Linked DNA regions of Homo sapiens: region 1 is linked to region 2. Evidence: promoter capture Hi-C in 16 types of primary human blood cells and fetal thymus (Javierre and others, 2016). All regions are on one chromosome and are shown on one strand. The core of a region is centred on a gene start or on the middle of the fragment in contact, and the rest is flanking DNA. Distances in the headings are between cores, read along the strand shown.

Region 1 (2,823 bases), core at 191-2,690, 250 kb after region 2:
TACTTATTTTTCTTTGCTTTCTTGTTTGATTACAATGCATTTTAGGGGTAAAATTTATGTGTGGTAAAATGCACAAAAATTAAGTGAATTTGGAGAAATGTCTATGACCTGTAGCCATTCCAATGGTAAAGATATAGAACTTATTTTTCCCCTAGAAGGATGCTTCATGTTCCTTTCCAGTCAATCTTCATACCCCAGGAGCAATCATAATTCTCAATTCTATTACCCTTTGGTTTTTGCCAGTTTCTGATAGTTCTTATTAATAGAATACTCTTTATTCTTTTCTGTCTTCTTTCATTTAACCAGTGTTTGTGAGAGTTAGCCATGTTGATGTCCATCTCATAGCTCATCTTTTCAATTGCTAAGTAGTAATTCCACTGTATGAATATACCACAAATTTTTAATTCTTTCTCTTCTTGATGAACATTTGTGTTTTTTCAAGTTTGAGACTATTATTTTTTAGGTTGCTGTTCACATTCTTGGACAAATCAGTTTGTGTATATATATTTTCATTTTTCTGGGGTATAAAACCTCAGAATGGAATTGCTGTGTCATAAGGTAAGCATGTATCTAAGTTTATAAGAAACCGCCCAACAGTTTTTCAAAGTGGTTATACCATTCTACTCTCCTTCCAGCGATGCATGAGAGATATACATCATTTGCAACGTTTGACTTTGGGATAGTATCTCGTTAGGTTTTTAATTCGCATTTGTCAAATAACAAATGTTGAGCAGCTTTTCATATACTTGGTCTTTTGCCTGTCTTCTTTGGGCTAGTATCTGTTAAAAGCACTGAGTTATTTGTCCTTTTGTTATTGCTGGATATGAGTTCTTTATACATTCTGTATACATTTCCTTTGTCAGATAGATGTATTGCATCTATTTTCTATTCTGAAGTTTGCCATTTTATTTTCTTACTGGTGCGTTTTAATAAGCAAGAGTTTTTTTTTATTTTGATGGAGTCTAATATATCATTTATTTTCTTTTATATGTAGTGCTTTTTGTATCCTTGCTAAGATAACTTTGCCTACTCCCAAAGTTGGGAAGATATTTTCTCATGTTTTCTTTTAAATGTTCTACAGTTTTAGCCTTTATATTTAGTTTTTTTAATTATTATTATACTTTAAGTTCTAGGGTACATGTGCACAACGTGTAGGTTTGTTACATATGTATACATGTGCCATGTTGGTGTGCTGCACCGATTAACTCGTCATTTACATTAGGTATATCTCCTAATGCTATCCCTCCCCCCTCCTTCCACCTATGACTGGCCCTGGTGTGTGATGTTCCCCTTCCTGTGTCCAAGTGCTCTTATCGTTCAATTCCCATCTATGAGTGAGAACATGCAGTGTTTGATTTTTTGTCCTTGTGATAGTTTGCTGAGAATGATGGTTTCCAGCTTCATCCATGTCCCTATAAAGGACATGAACTCATCCTTTTTTATGGCTGCATAGTATTCCATGGTGTATATGTGCCACATTTTCTTAATCCAGTCTATCATTGATGGACATTTGGCTTGGTTCCAAGTCTTTGCTATTGTGAATAGTGCTGCAATAATCGTACATGTGCATGTGTCTTTATAGCAGCATGATTTATACTCCTTTGGGTATATACCCAGTAATGGGATGGCTGGGTCAAATAGTATTTCTAGCTCTGGATCCTTGAGGACTCGCCACACTGTCTTCCACAATGGTTGAACTAGTTTACAGTCCCACCAACAGTGTAAAAGTGTTCCTATTTCTCCACATTCCCTCCAGCACCTTTTGTTTCCTGACTTTTTAATGATCACCATTCTAACTGGTGTGAGATGGTATGTCATTGTGGTTTTGATTTGCATTTCTCTGATGGCCATTGATGGCTAATATCCAGAATCTACAATGAACTCAAACAAATTTACAAGAAAAAAACAAACAACCCCATCAAAAAGTGGGCAAAGGATATGAACAGACACTTCTCAAAAGAAGACATTTATGCAGCCAAAAGACACATGAAAAAATGCTCATCATCAATGGCCATCAGAGAAACGCAAATCAAATTGTGTTTATTTGTTTCTCTTGTCTTATGCATTGGCTAAAACCTCCTGTACACCACTGAATAGAAATGGTGAAAGTGGATATTCCTGTCGTGTCCTGGTCTTAGGGAAACAATTCATGTTCACAATTTCAGCACTAAATATGATATTAACTATAGGCTTTTGTAAATGCTCTTTATCAGATTGAGGAAGTGTCTTTCTATTTCTTATTTGCTGTGAGTTTTTAACATGAATAGATGCATTCATGTTATTAAATTATGCTTTGAATGCATTGATTGATTATAACCAGGTTATTTATGTCTTCTAGTCTGTTAACATGGCAAATTATATTGATTAATTTTTGAATCTTTAACCTGCTTTGGTTTCCTGAGATGTGCCCTACTTTATAATTATGTATTAAAATTAGTGTGTTAGTATTTTCTTGTGAAAGTTTGCTTATACATTTTTGAGGGATATTTGTCTATCAACTTCTTTTCTCTAATATTTTGGCCAGGTTTGGGTACCAGGATTAAGCTAGCTTCAAAAAATAGGTTGAGAAGGGTCATTCCTCTTCCAGTTTCTAAAATAATTTGTGTCAGATTGACACTATTTCTTTCCTTATACATTTGATAGAATTTACCAGAATATAACCATCAAGCATAGAGTTTTCTTTGGGGGGAAGTTTATTGATAATAAGTTTAATTTCTTTGAGAGAAATATAACTGTTGAAATATTCCATTTCTATGTGGGTCAGATTTACTAATTTGTGTTTATAAAAACATTTTCATTACATCTAAGTTATTATATACATTA
Region 2 (2,759 bases), core at 229-2,728:
TCAAATGCATATCAAAACCACAATAAAATACCATCTTACCCCAGTTAGAATGGTTATTATTAAAAAGACAAAAAACAACAGATGCTGGAGAAGATGTGGAGAAAAGGGAACTCATACTGTTGGTGGGGATGTAAATTAGTATGACCACTATGGAAGGCAGTATGGAGGTTTCTCAAAAAACTAAAAACAGAACTGCCATAAAATCCAGCAGTTCCACTACAGTGTATCTATCCAAAGGAAAAGAAGTCAGTATATCAAAGGGATACCTGCACTCACATGTTTATCACAGAACTATTCAAAATAGCCAAGATATGGAATAAATCTAAGTGTCCATCAGCGAACAAATGGAAAAAGAAAGAATGGTATATATACATAACGGAATACCATTTGTCCATGGAAAAGAATGAAAACAGGTCATTTGCAGCAACATGGATGAACTGGAGGCCATTATGTTCAATGAAATAGGCCAGGCAACAGAAAGACAAATACTGCATGTTTTACTCATATGTGGTAGCTAAAAAAGTTGATCCCCTGGAGATAGAGAACAAAATTATGAGTACCAGAGACTGGAAAGGATGTGAGGGTGGGAAGGGGAAATGAAGAGAGGTTGGTGAATGGGTACAAACTTATAGTTAGATGGAAGAAATAGGGTCTAATGTTAGCTAGCAACTGGGGTGACTATAGTTAGCAATGATACATTGTATATTTCAAAATAGCTAGAAGAGAAGATTTGAAATGTTACCAACGTATATAAATGATAAATACTCAAGGTGATGGATACCCCAAATACCCTTCTTCTTTTTCTTCCTCTTCTTTTTTCTTCTTCTTCCTCTTCTTTGATCTCTCCTTGTTCTCCTCCTTCTCCTTGTTCTCCTTCTTCTCCTTCTCTTTCTTCTTTTCCTCCTGTTCTTCCTCTTCTCCTCCTCCTCTTCCTCTCCCTCTCCTTCTCCTTCTTGTTATTCTTTCTTCTTTCTTCTTCTTTTTTGAGACAGAGTCTCATTTTGTTGCCCAGGCTGGAGTGCAGTGGCTCGATCTCGGTTCACTGTAAACTCCGCCTCCTGGGTTGATCCTTCCACGTCAGCATCCTGAGCTGGTGGGACCACAGGCGCACGCCACCACGGCCGCCTAATTTCTTACAGAAAAAAAAACGGTTTCTGCTACCTTGCCCAGGCTGGTCTTGAACTCCCAGGCTCAGTCGAGCGCCACCCCCTCCACAAAGTGGTAGGATTATTTGCGTGAGCCACGGAGCCCTGCGGAGACTCTGGTTTTACTTTCTGCTCACCTAAGAAGCTCCTGCTGTGTCCCTAAGTGTTCCCGCCTCGCCTCTCCCCACACCCACTGCTCCCTAACTTCTCTCACAGGCCCCCAACGGCTTCCTCCTGCGCTGGCGCACGCTCAGGTCTTACCCGCCAGCAGGTGGCGAAACACGATTTTCTGTCCTCTGCGGCTGAGCCCTAGCGTCCCCTCTTCTCTAAGGCCTTTCGCCTAGTTCCAGCCTGGATACGCTTCCATAGCAAAGGGTTGCCCTTGGCTACAGGAGGACGCGGGCTGGCAGGCTTGGTTCCTGGCGAGTTTCTAAGCCCCCGCCTGCGGTCTGAGGCACCGGCTGAACCATGTCGGAGATCCTGTGCCAGTGGCTCAACAAGGAGTTGAAGGTGTCCCGGACCGTGAGTGAGTGACCACGGCCAGGGGCGAGCGTCTGAGGGGCTAGCGGGGCGCAGAGCCTGCAGCGCAGCGCAGCGCACTCAGGGAAGGTGGCGGGCAGGGCGCGAGCTGCACAGGTGGGGCACCTGCGTAGCCGGCAGCATCCCACAGTGAGCAACTCGGCTCGGCGGTGCCCCAGGTCCGTCCCGCCACCTCCCTACAGCTCACCCCAGCCAGGGCAAGGCCTTGTCACGTCCCCACTCTGCCGCTCTCGAGTTACCCTTGTCACGGTGGGCCCAACCCGCAGGCATTCTGACTTTGTGATGTGGTTCTAGGCAATCAGAGGGTTTAGGAAGGTCTCCTTTGCTTCTGTGGAGAGGGAACTTTGCTGGACTTTGTAGTCTGACCCCAACGATGCCTCCTTCACATCACCAGAAGCAGAAGCATGGTGTGGTGGCTAGTCGATGAAATATGAAGCCACTGGACAAGTTACAATACCTTCTCTGAATGTGTTTCCTTCTCTATAAAATGGACCTAATAATGCTTTCCATACTTAACTGACCAGCAGGGGAGGGTGGGTGAAAAATAAGTTAATGTAGAATATGTTAACATTTACAAATTTTAGTAAATTTTAAGCCCCAAATCACAAACTAGCTATTTCTGGTCACTATTGGCTCTTGCCCAAAGCTGACCTTATTCACCAACCTAATTTTATCCTAACCATGCAGTTGCCACCCAAAGTTTCCAAGTCTGACAACCACAGAGACAATTTTACATGCTGGCAGCTTCCTTGACTGCCCTGTAATTCTTCAGGAGTTCATTTTTCAGTTGGTTTTGTTTGTCTTTTTTTCTTTTTTTGCTTAAGGGAAGAGGTTTTCAGGGCAAGTCATTTCAGTCCATTTTCCCAGAAGAACTTGCTTAACACCAGCTTGCTACCAGAGAGGCAGTGGTGCCAGTTCAACCTTAGCTTATCTACAGAAGTTGCTAGATCGGTAGTGTTTCTGTGGGTGCAAAGTAGTTATTAATACTCTCAGCATGAGGATCTTTAGCACGGAGCATCTCCTGTTGCATTTCTTGAGGCATAAACCTCAGACTCTTTCTTTGTCAAATAACCA

The links. The method cuts DNA at HindIII sites, captures the fragments that hold promoters and counts their contacts. A CHiCAGO score of 5 or more calls a contact.
Region 1: a fragment that was not itself captured here is called in contact with the fragment with the promoter of SPEF2 in region 2 in 2 of 17 cell types (naive CD8 T cells and total CD4 T cells); the score reaches 6.0 in naive CD8 T cells.

The regions. Positions count from the first base shown.
Region 1 is chr5:35,863,860-35,866,682 of GRCh38, forward strand. All of the region lies in intron 2 of IL7R (interleukin 7 receptor), which reads left to right. Among named protein-coding and RNA genes, the nearest start is that of IL7R, 8.4 kb to the left of the region's middle. The HindIII fragment of the contact is 4,637 bases long and covers 1-2,823 here.
Region 2 is chr5:35,616,385-35,619,143 of GRCh38, forward strand. SPEF2 (sperm flagellar 2) reads left to right here and starts at 1,479. Exons shown (of 37, transcript NM_024867.4): 1 at 1,479-1,671. The coding sequence starts at 1,614. RefSeq lists an enhancer at 1,522-2,329. The HindIII fragment of the contact is 5,837 bases long and covers 1-2,759 here.